4 separate regions of the Homo sapiens genome follow, and all the other regions are linked to region 1. Evidence: promoter capture Hi-C in 16 types of primary human blood cells and fetal thymus (Javierre and others, 2016). All regions are on one chromosome and are shown on one strand. Each heading gives the region's core, a stretch centred on a gene start or on the middle of the fragment in contact. The rest is flanking DNA. Distances are from core to core; before and after follow the strand shown. Region 1 holds the start of MIRLET7IHG (MIRLET7I host gene). Region 2 holds the start of CNOT2 (CCR4-NOT transcription complex subunit 2). Region 3 overlaps RAB3IP (RAB3A interacting protein). Region 4 holds the start of CCT2 (chaperonin containing TCP1 subunit 2).

Region 1 (3,744 bases), core at 355-2,854:
GAGAAAAAGTTGATGGTAACAGTACATTATATGTGGATGATGAGTATATTGGTGTTAGCACTGTTAAAAACATTATGGAAAGGAATGTAAGTGATAAAGTAGTATAATGACTAAATTTAGTTGGAAACTACTGCTGTAACAAATCTGTATACCATAGACCAAACAGGTGTTTAGTGGCCATTTAAAAATCTGTGCCATTATGGCAAAGGACATTTGCTTTGGTACAGAATAATCTGATCCACTGCGCAGTCAATGAGCAGTGAGGGTTGATTCCCATGGCAGTCCAATCTTTGCTTATCAAGGAAGGATGGTGTGAAGTTTCTACAGACTTTCTGGTAAGTGATTGATAGATGAGTTTATGGTGTGATTGAGTTTTTGCTTTGAGTTTATGCTTAGTGATTGATAGGTGAGTTTATGCTTTGTCAGGTAAAGCATTTAACTGCAAATGTATTATGTTTACACAAATATTCTTAATTGGAAATAGTTTCTGAATATGCACCTAAAAATGTTCTTATGAAATATGTCAGGCAGGCTGATTTTTAACTTGAAAACTTCTACTTTAAGAAATTGTTTGGGTCCCATCGCCTATACCATGTAGAATAGAAACAAAAAGCCAGTTATTTAATTTTTAATTTGCAATTAAACTCTTGGCCAAGAGGATCTGTTGTCCAAAATTACATCGTGATAGCTTAAGAAAAAAAAAATCTTACTTTGCCAGAAAGGGAATTATACAAGGATATCTTTATGAGTTGCTGCCAAATTTTGTTCTAGACCACGGCCCTCTGGCCTCCATGAAGGATCAAAGTCTGGGCAAAGACAATTCTAAGTTGTAGGTAAACATGCTTTTCATTTCCCTCCATTCCTTACTTTTGTCATAAGCAGTCTGGATTTTCAGGGGTAAAGGCTGATAGGGTTGCCAGATACAGTCATTAAAAATTGAGAATGTGCAGTTAAATTGGAATATCAGATAAACAATTTTAAAAATATATGTAACACACATATGCCAAAACACTGGTTATCTGAAATTCCAATTTAACTGGGCGTCCTGTATTTTATCTGACAAGCCCTAACTACTTCTTTAAAATAATTTGTTAACTTCCTACAAAAAATCTCTAAATGGGAGGAAAAAAAAAATCCCGTAAGTTGTCTGGGCCAAAAGCAGAAGTGGCTCCATGGCAGTCAGCCTTCTCCCTAACTTGGCTTAAAAAGAAAAAGCCAAAACCAGAAGTCCCAAAAGCTTGCGTTTAAAGCGGGCTGTGCCGCAGCTTTCCCGCCTGTTTTCTGCGGAATGTAGCACGGCAGCCACCCCGCGTGGGTGGGGCTCGTATGGTTGTGTCCTTGCTGGTTGGGAAAGGAGGTGCCGGAAACTTCAAACCACGGCCAGGGTACAACGTGTCCGCTTAGGCGGCGATATGCGCCGCCATCTTCTTTGCGGGCAAAGGCCGAAAAAAGTTTGGGACTCCACTCCCCCCCGCTGAGCCGATGGAGGGCATCGCCCGCTGCCTCAGCACTCTGGTGACGTGGAATCGGGGTCCCCTCTTTCAGGGCTGATTTCTGGTAGCACGCTGACGCCTGCCAAGGCAGGGAAAGGGGACGCCGCCTCTGTCCCGGATGTAAGATGGCGGCGCGGGGGGCGGCCTGGCGGGGCGGTCACGTGGTGAGGAGTAGCGCGCGAGCCTCCTTAAGTGATCTCTAAGGTTCGTCCGGACGCACAGGAGCAGCGGAGCGCGAGACGGGTCTTGTGTCCGCACGCGTCGAGTCGTCGCAGTCGCCACCCGGGCCATCGCCGGGCCCGGTTTCACTGTTAAGGGGTTTTCGTTTGTTCCGTTTTCGCCTCCTGTAGAGCTGAACGGGAATTCCCCGAAGGGTGCTGGGGAACGGGTGGCCTGGGGACTTCCCGGCTATGCCTTGGCTGCTGTTTGGCGGAGCCGGCGGCAGCCTCTGCGGGATGCCCGCCGGCGATTATCGGCGCCGAGAGCGGGCCGGCGGCGGGTTCGACAGCGCGGCGCGGGTGGGGGCCCGGGTACCGGACTCGGCCGCAGCCCAGCCCCCACCGGGGACTCGGAGCAGGGAGGGGCGCGAGCGGCGCAGCTCGGGACGTGGCGGCAGCTCCTAGCGGGCGAAGCGCGGGAGCGCTGCTCGCTGCCTCTCGGGGGCAGTCCAGAACCAGTTGGTGTCTGACTGCGCTTTTGCCGCCCATTTCCTGCTTTCGAGCGGCTGAGGCGACGCGCTCCCCTCGGGCAGTGGAGGGAGCGGCTCTCTCCGCAGGACACCGCCGCTTTTCTCTCTTCAGAGCGGTGGCTGACGTACAGAACGCCGGCTGTATCACCCGGGCGCCGGCGCCGCCTCTCATCCCCGTAGCTCTCGGGGCGCGCCGGGAGTAGCCGAGCCGCTGGGTGCTGGGCGGGGTCTCCGGGCGCGGCGCGGGGGGAAGGCAAAGGAAAAGAAGGGGCGGCGGGCCGACGTCGGCGGCGAGGAAGGACGGAGGAGCGCCGGAGCCGCTTTGCTGCCCTCCGCGTGGTCCCGTGCCTCCCCGACACCATGGCCCTGGCTGAGGTAGTAGTTTGTGCTGTTGGTCGGGTTGTGACATTGCCCGCTGTGGAGATAACTGCGCAAGCTACTGCCTTGCTAGTGCTGGTGATGCTCAGCGCCGCGGAGGACAATGGCTGGGAATCCCCTTTGTTTTCCGGGGCGCTGCCTGGGGACAGCCCGCGAAGCCTCGGCGCCCGGCCGGCGCGGCCACCACGGAAACCGTTAGTTTCACATTTTCCTAGAAGGAATTGAGGGGAGTGGGGTGGACCGCGATGCATTTTAAAGGTTGGGAAAGAGCTAAGCCATTGGATTCCTTTTCTTGAAGGAAGGAGTGGAATTGTGTAAGATAATTGATACAGATAACTTTTTCACCCTAAAAAATTCTAACACTTCTTTCAGCAGTTAAATGCCAAATTTAGTGTGTACCTGTTTTACTTCATTCTTTAGCTGTAGGTTGGAGTGGTGTGAGCGATCTGCAGAACTGGCATTAGAGGGGCAGAAGAAGTAGACCTGATAATTAAAGTTTATGCCTTAACATTTTAGATCTGGTTTCTGATATGCTCTCTTAGTAAATCTGAGTGTGTCTTTAAAAACGTAAACCCAAAGCAATTTAAAGTTTCTCTTTAAACTTTGCAACTCGCGAATGAGAAGATTGAAATTATTTGTAGGTAATTGCACTATTCCGATTTTTTAATGTATGAGGCAAACAAATAAATTCTATGTACAGTGTGCTGTGAATGGTTTTGTTTTTTGTTTTTTCTTTTTAGTTTAACCTTGGGGCTCAGATTCTGCTGGTGTGGTGGGTTGGTTTTTTGGTTTTTATGGCCTTTGATTCTAATGTTATGTGGTACTTACATCTTTGAGGTTTTGTATGGGAGAAGAGGACTAGGAATTGAAAGTGGTTTCTAGATTTGAGTTTAAAATCTACTAACACTCATTTTGATTCCTGAGTGGCCACTACTCCTAATAGGAAAATACCTTTGCATAGAGAAAAAAGGTAGTTTGGATAACTAATGAAAATACTCAGTGCTCTAATACCCTGAAGTCTGCGTGGAAAACAAGATACTTGTATTTTTATTTTATTTTCACTGAGGGAAGTAAGTGGTCAGTTTTAGTACTTTTCGTTGAAAACTGATCTGTATTTGTACAGAATAAGTAGTTTTGAATATAATGTAATCGCAGTTTTCTATGGTTTTCTGATGCTCAGTTGAA
Region 2 (3,744 bases), core at 342-2,841, 7.6 Mb after region 1:
AGACTTACACCCTCTGGAAGTCATTCCATAGAGGTATATTCAATCTTTTAACACACCATCTTATGGTTGAAGATGTTAACATGAGAAGGAGGAGAAAGCAGGAAGAGGAAGGGACTATTTGCAGAAGACGGGGAGAAAGAAAGGAAAGACACTAGTATGTGTTGTTCCTCCTCGAATTTTCCTGAAGTGAAAAAAAAACAGTGAAGTAGAGTGTTTGATGAAATGAATAACCAAGCAAAACATTTTCTACCTACACCAGTACCACTAGGAGTTGAAATAAATTCACACAATGTCTGCTGATATGTCAAAACACCTTACCTTCAAAAACATGACAGTTACCTTTTATTTTATAGTATGCTTGTGTTTCTTCCTATTTCTTGCTTTTGACCTTCAATGATAAATGTAAACTGGATTACAGTGATTCTTTTGTAAGTAAAAGGTGACTTTTTAAAAGAAACAACCAATGGAAATAGAAATTTTATTTACTTCAAATTAACTGTACTTTACTCAAATAGAAAAGAATAATTTTCACATTATGAAGCTACACAATTCCAAAATACACATGCTGAGGCTCTTTTTAAGTCCGAATTGTCTAGTAATTACAAAAAAGTGAAGAGTTTACAGATATACAAGGAAATAAAGGCGAATTATTGCAAAGAAAACAAGTTTAATTTCACTTTGAATGACAACGATTTTTCTGGAAAGCAGATACTTCACTCCTTTAAGTTTCCACCCAAGCCACAATAATTTCAAACGGTCTTGCGGATGACCCAGCTGGTCACTCTTGTTTATGTGGGGACTGGAGGTAATGAGAGCCAAAAAAAGTGCTATAAACCTAATTTGGCTAGAGCAAGTTCACACGACACGACCGTGCTTTAAAAACTTGCTCTCCATTATGTACTTCCTTCCATCAGGTTGGGGAAAAAAAAATGGTGGGGATGGTGAGTAAACACACCAGTGGTTTCATCAGAGGGGAACTCACTACTCAGGAGGTGACGGTGACGTGGTGCCGGTCCCTGAAGTACGCGCACAAGCTCCGGAGGTTGCGGGAGCTGAGGGAGGAAACAGGGACACGATCAGATTCGCTCCAGGTGGCGGGAGTGAGGAGGGGAGGAGTGACGAGGCGGACGTGCGGGGGCGGGGGTGTCCAACACAAACACAAACACAAACACGAACACGAACACGCTCAGCGTCCCCGGGGAGGGCGGACTGAAGCCACCTCACCATTCATCGCCCCTGGACCCCGCAGTCCCCCTCGGACTCAGGGCCAGAGCCTTCTGCGAAGCAACCTAGCCCCAGGGAAACGGTAGCGGCCGCAGAAGCCCCGCTCTCTGTAACGGCCGCGGAGGAGCAGCAAGCCTCCCTGTGAGTCGGTGGGAGACAAGACGGAGCGGCGGTAAGGGCGGTAGGGAAGTGAAGCGCCTCTCTCCACCTTGTTAGAAGCGCGCTGAAAGCGGCCTGCCTACCCACCCCATCGCTGCCGTTTTGCAGTCGTCGCTCCCACCTTCCGCTGCCGCCTGGAGGGAAGCCGGAGCGACGGGGGTCACGGCGGCGGTCAGAGGGTAAAGGTCTTGCTCCCAGCAGCCTCCGCGGTGGATACGTCGCCATCTTGGATCCGCGGGACAAGAAAATTCATGCGGTGAGTTTTTGGTAAATTTTCGGAAGTCTGGCAGCGGGGCGCGCGGCGGGGGCGGCAGATTCGGGGCCCCCGCAAGGCGGGGGAATGCCCCGGGGCCGGTCCGGTCGCGCCCAGGGTCCGCCGGTAGCGTCCCGGCCCACCGCTTCCCGTTGCTTTTGTCTCGGCTCCAATCGAGAGACGGAGAGCGGAGCGGGCGGGGAGGGGGGTGGCGGCGGTGGAGGGAGGGAGGGGGTGTGTATGGGGGTGGTGGTGGACCGGACGTAAAGCGTCGCTGTACTCGGGCCGCTGCAGCAGCAGCAGCTCCAGATCCTAGGCCCGGTCCCATCCGCGAGTGGTGGGGCTTCCCCAGACTCCACTCCCCTAGGCTCCCGCCAGCGCGGAGGAGCCGCTGCCGCCGCGCTGCTTCCTGGGGGAGAAGAGAAGGCGGCAGCGGCCGTGGCCGTGGCCGACGAGCTCGAGCCCGCTTTAGACGGCTCTGCCGCCTTCCCGGCAGCTGGTGCTGTCTGTGGCTTCTTACCTTCTCTCAATACACGTATATCATCTGCCAGTTATGTGTATTTCTGTTAGTGTGTTTGCAAGTGTCAGATGGGAGACACTGGACTGGCTAACGGGTGTCAGGATCCTGCAGGCCCTGGGATACCGAAGGCTGTGCATGGTGGAGGGAGAAGGAATGCAACTGCGATGCCGCCTCTGCCACCGCACCAGGAAGGTGAAGCTTCCGTAGTGTCGTAGACTGAGTCCGGATGATCCTGGGGCGGCGGAGGAACCACAGACGCTTCTGTCTGTGAAGTTGCAAGTCCTGGGTTTCTACTTCCGCAGGGGCCTCTCCACCTTTTGCTGTCGTAGGTCTCGCTTAAAAGTTTAACAGAAGAAAAGAGTAGGGTTAAAAGAGGCCTTTGTAGTTCTTCATTGAAGCACTGTTGTCTGTCCGGGTGAAAGCTGATAACTCTTGGTAACTGTGGTCCTTAGCAAAAGAGAATTGGAGTTTTCTTTTATACAAAGTATTTCCAAGGTTTTAGACCTTATATTTATTCCAGGCCTGTAGGTACGGTATTACTACCACAAAAGTCTTACATTAAGGGTACCACCCTCTCAGAGGGAACCTAAACATCAACTTCCTTCGAATCCTTGGAGACATCTTCACTTTTCAACATCCGGAAGACTGAGTGCAACATATTTTGTTTCATTTTCATAAAAGTCTTGGTCAGAGAATCCCACTCCTTTTAAAATCGTTTGGGCAATTCCTCATAATTAAGTACACTGCTTTGAACCCTTAGTTCTTGGCGAAATGGTAAAAAGTACTCAGTTAAAATCAGTTCACGAGGGAGGCCAACTTGAATTTAAGGTTCAAAGTTGAACATATTTAGTGTCATGCTTAATATTAGGAATTTTTAGAGCTCGGAATCATAAGTGTGACTGTTGATTTCCCTTTTGAAGCAATATAAATGGAAAGAATAAAGTATGGGGTGAGGGATGAGATAGAAATTTTAAAGTATCCATTTACATGCAAGGTTGATGTTGAGTTTGGGAATGCTTGGCATAATTGACAACAGTTCTTTCCAAACGTCAATGAATAAATCTCACAATTTTGTAAGGTAACTATTGCAGATTGAAAGGGTTAAGAATCATAGTTGGCTGAAATGGTTAAGTGTCTATATTCACATCCCAGTTCATTGAAATGTTTTATAATGGACCAAGATAATTAGTAAGCTCTGTATGTTGAATTTGTTTAGTTTGTAGTTCTATTATAATGTTAAATCTAAAGAAAAAAATACAAAATACACTTAAAGACAAAACATGTTCCACTCTACTCACTTATTTCTTGACTTTGTAAGATCCTTACTGTAAAAAAGGTACTTTTCTCTCATATTTTCTGAGAGCTTGAATTGTAATAATTTTTGTGAATACTTTGTATTTTAGAGAGGAAGTGAGAAACTGCTGAAGTTTTTTTTGCATCTTGATTAGTGCTTTATCAATACAAATAAGTTAATGTAAACATTTGTTGGCAGGAATCTTTTTCTAAGTATACAATGTAGAGATATCTGTAACCTAATCTGATCTCAGGGAATGAGAATTGCCTGTTTAACCAAGCAACAAATACAGCC
Region 3 (3,744 bases), core at 334-2,833, 7.1 Mb after region 1:
AATGCTAAAGAATTGTTTGCTCATAATCACTACATTATCACTTCTTTATGTGTAGCTTATAATGCTGAAGAACTTTGTAATTTAGCTTTTATGAGATACGTAATGTTAATGTAATATGTAATTCTCATTGTGTCACCAGAGATTTTTTTAAATCAAATACTCATTGAGCATCTACTCTGCAAGTCACAGTAGGGGTTAAAGGAAACTGTTCTTAAGGAATATGGAAGGTAGGGCCTTATAATCATTCCCATATCTTTTATAAGTTCTTCAAAATGTAGAACGCACTTTACATATTTTAATGAATGTCAACTAAGACAAAGTGCTAGGATAGTTGAGTAGTGGAGAGGAAGGACAGATGGATAGTGGGTAGAGATATTTGTGCATTGAGGTAATGAGGGAAAGCTTTGAAGATATTCCAAGGGAGTACGCTTTTTCACACTAAACTTTTTTCCGATATAATTCTGATTAAGATGCAGTTCATCAAAGGATAGTAAATTGGTTACTACGCATTTGATATCCTAAAAACAAAATATCTGAGCTTTTGTAAACTGCTTTCTAGCTTGTTTCTCCTTTTTTATGCTACTATCCTTAGTTGTACCAGATGGTACTCTTTTTAAAAATTTTATGCTTTTATAATACTGAGTACCTCTTTTTTGGTATTTATGAACTTTGATATTTGTGTTGTATTTGTAATTGTTTCTAGGGCCCTAGAAACATGTTTATTGGCAAGGTGGTCTCTTCCTCTAGTCTACAAGTGCTTCGAGAGTAGGGCTTACCTCATTTTATAGCTTTAACATCGGGCCAGGTAAGTACTGTGCTGTGTTTGGTGATGGATGATCAGTTGAAGAATGTTAGGATGTTTTGAAGCTGCTCTAGCAGTAGAAATTGAAATGAACATTGAGAAATGAAGGGACAAAGGAAGGAAGAGGAAGATATTTATACAACTGGGAGCATTAACTTGCTATCTCTATTTTCCCTTCTGCTTTCCTTTTCAACTTACCACTAAATGAGGTAGTTTTATAAGCTTACATCGTACATAGTCATGGTTAGAGAAAAGTGGAAAAAGTAATCTGATTTATCTTAGAATATAGGGCAACACGAAATTAGATAACTATAGCCGTAAACTGATATTACTTAGAGGAAAAAGAATGAAAATTATTCAAATAGTTCAAGTTCATGAAAGATTTGATGCTTGTCGTTAACAGTAGGATTGTAAATATAATCATAATGGCAGTTGATGAAATTCCTCTGAGGGGTATGGATACATACACAAATAAGTATATGAATTGACAGCTTAGTATGAAGAAACTATTCAAGAATGTGAGAATGCCCTATGAGCATAAAGGAGCATATAGATGATAGCTTAGAACCACTTAAATAAGTGAATTGTAATTTGATATGCCCAGATAAAAGTAATAGTATTGAATATTTGTTTGGGAGCATCTGGTTGTCAGATAAGGATAAAGTATAAAAGAAAAACCAAAATAAGTTTGAAAAAACAATAAGCAAATTTGTATCAATTCCCTGTGGGGAAAAGAATCATATTTGAACTACATGCCTCATAAAGACTAGTTTTCCCTTTCTTTCCTTTTACCTAAGATAAATAAAGATACCTTCTGATTTGTAAGACAAACCCCTCAGTATGCTTTTGCTATTTCCCCCATTACATTTTTTTCTTTCTTAGATCTTTATAAAATCATACATTTATGTTGTGCTTTACAATGTATACATTTTTACATTGATATGCCATTTGATTTTCTCAAATGTAGGCAGGGGAGATAATATCACTACCATTATAGATGTCAAAACTGAACCTTAGAGAGATTAAATGACTTGCGTCAGTTCACACAGCTTGTCAGTGACAGAATCTGAACTAGAAGGAAGGTTTTCTGAAGTTAGTCTGTTAAAATGCTCAGGTTTTCTCAAACTTCAATTTCTCCAGTTTTGATACTCTCGCAAAGTATTTACTGTTTCATTTCTATCTTTTTCAGCAAAAATGTAGCCTGAATAACTGTCTCCACTCTTTACCGCTTTGCTATTCATTCCTTCTCTAAAGACTCTTGTTTATTTATTTAGTCAGTGCGTATTTCAGCACCTGTTGAATGTTTAGTTGGCATATATTCTTAAGAGAATATGTAAAATGAAGCTTCCATTATTGAGAAAAAGAAATTTGGAAAATGATTTTTTTAAAAAATTATACTTTTAAGTTCTGGGATACATGTGCAGAATGTGCAGGTTTGTTACATAGGTATACACGTGCCATGGTGGTTTGCTGCACCGGTCAACCCATCATCTACCTTAGGTATTTCTCCTAATGCTATCCCTCCCCTAGCCCGCCACTCCCCCACAGGCCCTGGTGTGTGATATTCCCCTCCCTGTGTCCGTGTGTTCTCATTGTTCATCTCCCACTTATGAGTGAGAACATGCGGTGTTCTGTTAATTTAAATAAATATTTAATTACAAATAAATATTTGTAATTAAATATTAGCTCATTGTATTATTACAAATAATTATTTGTAATTAAATATAATATTAGCTCATAAGTTCAGAACATTTTCTGAAAACTGTCAACATAACACACTGCAATAACTAACATCTCTACACATGTCAGGTTGTACATTGAAGTGTTGTGGAATTAGGCCGGGCATGGTGGCTCACACCTGTAGTCCCAGCACTTGGGAGGTTGAGGCAGACAGTTACTTGAGGTCAGGAGTTCGAGACAAGCCTGGTCAACATGGCAAAACCCCATCTCTACTAAAAATACAAAAAATTAGCTGGGTGTGGTGGCAGGCGCCTGTAATCCCAGCTATTCAGGAGACAGATGTTGCAGTGAGCCGAGATTGTGCCACTGCACTCCAGCCTGGGCGACAGAGCGAGACTGCATCTCAAAAAAAAAAAAAAAAAAGTATTGTGGAATTAGTGGGAATTCATTTGTGATCTATTATAATAAAAATGGGAAAATTGTGTAGCCTGATTGACCATTTGAGTAATTTTGCCCTTGGGCTATTAATTACATTTGCATTTATAAACATAGAATGCTTCTTAAAAGATAAATGTGATTTTTTTTGTCATAACTAAAATGCTAGTTTGGGAAGCCAACTTTAAAATTATTATGAAAGCTAATGAAAAAATGATTTTATATATATACTTGTTTTGTTTTTTCCTCCTTTATTATACAGTATTTGAATAAATTTTGAACTTTCCTTTTTATTTTGAGAGCACTATAAATTATGGAGAGTTTCAAATAAGGTAAGTAGACACAATAGTATAATGAACCTAAAAGTTTCCATCATGTAGCCCAGTAACTATCAACAGTGATCAGTCCTCATCCATCCACTTCTCCCACTTCTATATTATTTTGAAACAAATTGCAAGTCCTGTGTAATTTCACCTGTAGGTATTTCAGTATTTCCCAAAGATAAGAGCAGTTAACTGCAGTACTTTTACAAACTTTGTTCTTTATTTATTTTTTCATTTTAATCTACATTTCCTGCTTTTATTATTACAAATTTTCAAAAATTAACACTAATTCCTTGGTATAAAATATCTACACTTTTTAAAAAAATACACAGGAATATGGGTACTATAGTAAATTCAAGTTTCTGTTTATTTTGATTTATGTGCTGTTTTTTTTTTTCCAAGTCCTGTAAGGAGCTGAATAAGTATTAAATTCTGGCATAGTAACAAAACAGAGGAGGAAATGATAACAAAAATAATATAGGGGAAAATAATAGAACACAAAGC
Region 4 (3,744 bases), core at 720-3,219, 7.0 Mb after region 1:
CTTGCCTACCAGAGGACATAATAAATATCTCCAGGTATGTAATTTTGCCCACAATAAAAACAACCTTTTTCAATATTGTGCAGGCATCTTAGTTTTTTATTGTGAATCTTCTCATTCCAGAATGCGATTTGGGATCTGCCTAGGAAAGTACATTTCCTGAAAGAAGACCAAATTTTCCTACAAAGAAGAGAAAACTCTTGGGAGATTTAAAATAACAATTTGTCCAGCCTGAACTCCCCTTTTCATGTTGGACCTGAGGAATACTGTAAACCAGGGTCAGCAAACTTTTTCTGTAAAGAATTAGATAATACATGTTTTAGGTTTTGTGGGCCCATTCAACCTGTCATGACTACTCAACTCTGCCACATAACTCTGCTATCGTATTGTGACAGAGTAAATATGTATGGGTATGCCCATGGATTCCAATGAAGCTTTATGGACACTGAAATATTAATTTCACAGGATTTTCATGTGTCAGGAAATTTTTGATTTCTTTCAACCACTTAAAAATGTAAAAACTATTCTTAGCTCTCAGGCCATACAAAAAACAACTGGCAGGCTGGGTTTGACTCCTCACAGCTTGCCAACCCCTGGTGGAAATCAACCCACTTAGAGGAAATCTGAAGGGTAGAAACAACTAAAAAATTGAAAATTCCTGTTAATGTTAGCAATGTCAAAAATCCAGGAGACCCCAGCTACTCAGGAGACCAAGGCAGGAAGATTGCTTGAGCCCAGGAGTTCCAGGCCAGCCTGGGCAACATAGAAGACCCCATCTCTAAAAAAAACAAAACAGAAAAAGAAAAATCCAGGAGCTTGTTTTGTTTTGTTTTTGTTTTGAGACAGAGTCTCGCTCTGTTGCCCAGGCTGGAGTGCAGCGGCGTGATCTCGGCTCACTGAAACCTCTGCCTCCCGGGTTCAAGCAATTATCCTGCCTCAGCCTCCTGAGTAGCTGGGATTACGGGCATGCACACCACGCCCGGCTAATTTTTGTATTTTCAGTAGAGACAGGGTTTCACCATGTTGGCCAGGCTGGTCTCCAACTCCTGACCTCAGGTGATCCGCCCACCTCGGCCTCCCAAAGTGCTGGGATTACAGGGGTGAGCCACCGCGCCCTGCCGAGGAGCTTAAGCGATCAGTTAGTCAAAGGGAGAAAAGAGGGTATCAGTAGATGACAGAAAAATTTTTTAGAGAACAAATTTTTAGACATCCGTCAACTTAGAGAAAGTAGAAAACTGTCTATAATAAACTGAAATATTTGGGACTGATCTTGATGTCTGCCAAGGTTTTGGCAGACATCAAGATCAGTCCCAAATATTTCAGTTTATTATAAACAAAGACTAATAAGTCGTCTCTACTATTGGAGGAAAAAAAAAAAAAAGACCGAAATGCAAAAATTCCTGAAAATGAGTAAATAGGGCAAAGATAAAATACTATAAATGTCTCTCTCAGTTCACAAGACCTTATCCTGGGCAGTCAACGTCCAGTTAGAAATAACGTCTGAAAATTCAGTAAGAGAAAAGGAAGTCTTCTTCTGTAATACTCAGTAAATAATGTTTAAAATTAACATAGCAATAATATTATCTGGGAATATGATAGTAAATAGCCCCTCCAAAAAACTGAAAAAGTTGAAAGCAGTTTTCCTGGAGACAGGAAGTGGTGAGGCAGATAAATTATGTTTTTCCTTATTGGTATATAACACTTTAAACTGTGTACATGTGTGACTTTAATAGAAGTGTTTAAAGATTAAATTTAAGAAAATAAAAAGTGTGAGCAAGAACTCCATTTCTATGGCAACCCGCGCGGCAGCCGCCTCTTTGTTCTGGAGCGGCGGCCACGCCCCCTCCAGTGTGAAAGGCTGCGTTTCCGGCCCGTGGGGCTCCAATCAAAATGGGACGCCTGCTGGCGGTAACGACAGGCCGGGGCCCCGCCCCCCGAAGTAGGGCGTGTGGCGTCACTTCCGGCTTCCTTCAGTCCGCTGGTCCCGAGCACGAGCTGTGAGGGGATTCACTTGTGTGCGGAACTCCTCGGAACCATGGTGAGCCTGACTCCCCTGCCTCTTGCCCTACCCCTGCTCCGCCGTGCTCTTGCCACCCCACTGCTTCCTCTGTCCTGCTAGGGTCGTAGGCTCCGTTTCTGTCTCCCCGGCCCTCCGCACATGGTGCGAGCCATGCGCGGGGCGTGCGGCCTGCGCCAGGCCAGCCGGTGGAGCTCACCACGAGGGGGAGGGGTGGACCGCAAAGCCAGCGTCTCCTTGTGCCTAGGTCTTTGCATAGTCCCGGCAGCCCAGGTCCGCGCCTCACCCGGAGCGAAGAAATTTCTAGTGTGGGACCCGCTCCGCCCTCCTTCTAGGGGCGGAGCCTGGAGCGACGGGGTCTGAGCCATCAGAGGGTGGAGGGGCCGCAGCCTTCCGAGGGTGGAAGATGGAGGCCGCGTTCCCTCGCCCGCCCGGCAGGCGTCACCTTGATGGCCTGCAACCCCTCCCTGCCTCATTCTTAGTTCAAGATCGTCTTTAGTCTCGCTGTACGTAACTGTCAATCTCGCTGGTGTATAATTTATACTCCCGGGGGCCTTGTAAATCCGAAAAGCCATGTCGCTCTCCTACAAGTCCCTCTCTCCCACTTAAATGCTTTCTCCGATGATGGAAGCTTCATTTGATTGAAAACATTGTTGTAAATGAGTTTTCTCTTAGATGTCCACTTGTAAGACTAGTGGAAGGCACCTCAGTGTATGTGTTAGAGTATTGGTACTTAAACGGAATGCCTCTTGGTTTTCCTTTTCAGGCGTCCCTTTCCCTTGCACCTGTTAACATCTTTAAGGCAGGAGCTGATGAAGAGAGAGCAGAGACAGCTCGTCTGGTAAGCCTTGTTCTAAGCATTGTTTTAAAGATAAAACTGGAGGCCAGGCGCGGTGGCTTACTCCTGTAATCCCAGTACTTTGGGAGGCCGAGGTAGGCGGATGAACTGAGGTCAGGAGTTCGAGACCAGCCTGGCCAACATGGTAAAACCCCGTTTCTACTAGAAATACAAAAATTAGCCGGGCGTGGTGATGGGCACCTGTAATCCCAGCTACTCGGGAGGCTGAGGCAGGAGGATCGCTTGAACCCAGGAGGCGGAGGTTGCAGTGAGCTGAGATCGCGCCATTGCACTCCAGCCTGGGCGACAGAGCGACACTCTGCCTCAAAAAAAAAAAAAAGTAAATAAAGATAAAACTGTACTTGAAGACTGTAAAGTTGATTCTGATAATCTCCTTGGTTTTTACTCCAGACTTCTTTTATTGGTGCCATCGCCATTGGAGACTTGGTAAAGAGCACCTTGGGACCCAAAGGCATGGTAAGAAAAATAGAAAAGTTTTATATTTTAATATTGTTTTAGAGCGCTTGGTGGAAATATAATAACAAGCGTATTAAAATGCTTTTTAATCTTTAAAACGTTTAATTATAAAAGACAAGTATGTTCTCCTTAGTAAAAATCAGAGTCCCCAGAATCACCATCCCCAATCCCATGCCCCTCCCCAATGACAAGTACTGTTATCATTTGCACGTACATCTTCTAATATTCTGTTTATGTAGAAGTATGTGTACTTCATTATGTATTTTATACTCATGTAACATACTGTTTTATAAAACAGATACTATTTATCAATACTTTTTTGTAGCTTGCTCTTTTAAATTCCTTTCAGTGTAAGTAGATAACACTGCCCCTTTAACTGTCAAATATTATCCTGTACCTTAATTATTTTATAATT

The links. Contacts are between HindIII fragments. The CHiCAGO score rates a contact against its expected background, and 5 or more counts as called.
Region 2: a contact is called between the fragment with the promoter of CNOT2 here and the fragment with the promoter of MIRLET7IHG in region 1, in 1 of 17 cell types (total CD8 T cells). The highest score is 5.0, in total CD8 T cells.
Region 3: a contact is called between a fragment that was not itself captured here and the fragment with the promoter of MIRLET7IHG in region 1, in 2 of 17 cell types (activated CD4 T cells and non-activated CD4 T cells). The highest score is 9.9, in activated CD4 T cells.
Region 4: a contact is called between the fragment with the promoter of CCT2 here and the fragment with the promoter of MIRLET7IHG in region 1, in 2 of 17 cell types (total B cells and total CD8 T cells). The highest score is 8.3, in total B cells.

Annotation. Positions count from the first base shown.
Region 1 is chr12:62,601,139-62,604,882 of GRCh38, forward strand. It overlaps MIRLET7IHG (MIRLET7I host gene), which reads left to right and starts at 1,605. Exons shown (of 2, transcript NR_186001.1): 1 at 1,605-1,697. LINC01465 (long intergenic non-protein coding RNA 1465) reads right to left here and starts at 2,296. Exons shown (of 1, transcript NR_121682.1): 1 at 613-2,296. MIRLET7I (microRNA let-7i) reads left to right here and starts at 2,548; the gene lies at 2,548-2,631. RefSeq lists enhancers at 899-1,422, 1,423-1,944, 1,459-1,568, 1,649-1,838, 1,945-2,466 and 1 more and silencers at 1,919-2,228, 2,319-2,618. The HindIII fragment of the contact is 3,704 bases long and covers 1,236-3,744 here.
Region 2 is chr12:70,241,842-70,245,585 of GRCh38, forward strand. It overlaps CNOT2 (CCR4-NOT transcription complex subunit 2), which reads left to right and starts at 1,592. Exons shown (of 16, transcript NM_014515.7): 1 at 1,592-1,639. PRANCR (progenitor renewal associated non-coding RNA) reads right to left here and starts at 1,519. Exons shown (of 5, transcript NR_120460.1): 1 at 1,471-1,519; 2 at 983-1,052; 3 at 340-388. RefSeq lists enhancers at 878-2,077, 1,252-1,451, 2,182-2,321 and silencers at 1,011-1,550, 1,622-1,881. The HindIII fragment of the contact is 4,785 bases long and covers 1-2,352 here.
Region 3 is chr12:69,741,805-69,745,548 of GRCh38, forward strand. All of the region lies in intron 1 of RAB3IP (RAB3A interacting protein), which reads left to right. Among named protein-coding and RNA genes, the nearest start is that of RAB3IP, 4.8 kb to the left of the region's middle. The HindIII fragment of the contact is 1,122 bases long and covers 1,023-2,144 here.
Region 4 is chr12:69,583,490-69,587,233 of GRCh38, forward strand. It overlaps CCT2 (chaperonin containing TCP1 subunit 2), which reads left to right and starts at 1,970. Exons shown (of 16, transcript NM_006431.3): 1 at 1,970-2,035; 2 at 2,781-2,855; 3 at 3,264-3,329. The coding sequence starts at 2,033. MIR3913-1 (microRNA 3913-1) reads right to left here and starts at 1,334; the gene lies at 1,233-1,334. MIR3913-2 (microRNA 3913-2) reads left to right here and starts at 1,234; the gene lies at 1,234-1,333. RefSeq lists an enhancer at 2,001-2,340. The HindIII fragment of the contact is 2,214 bases long and covers 430-2,643 here.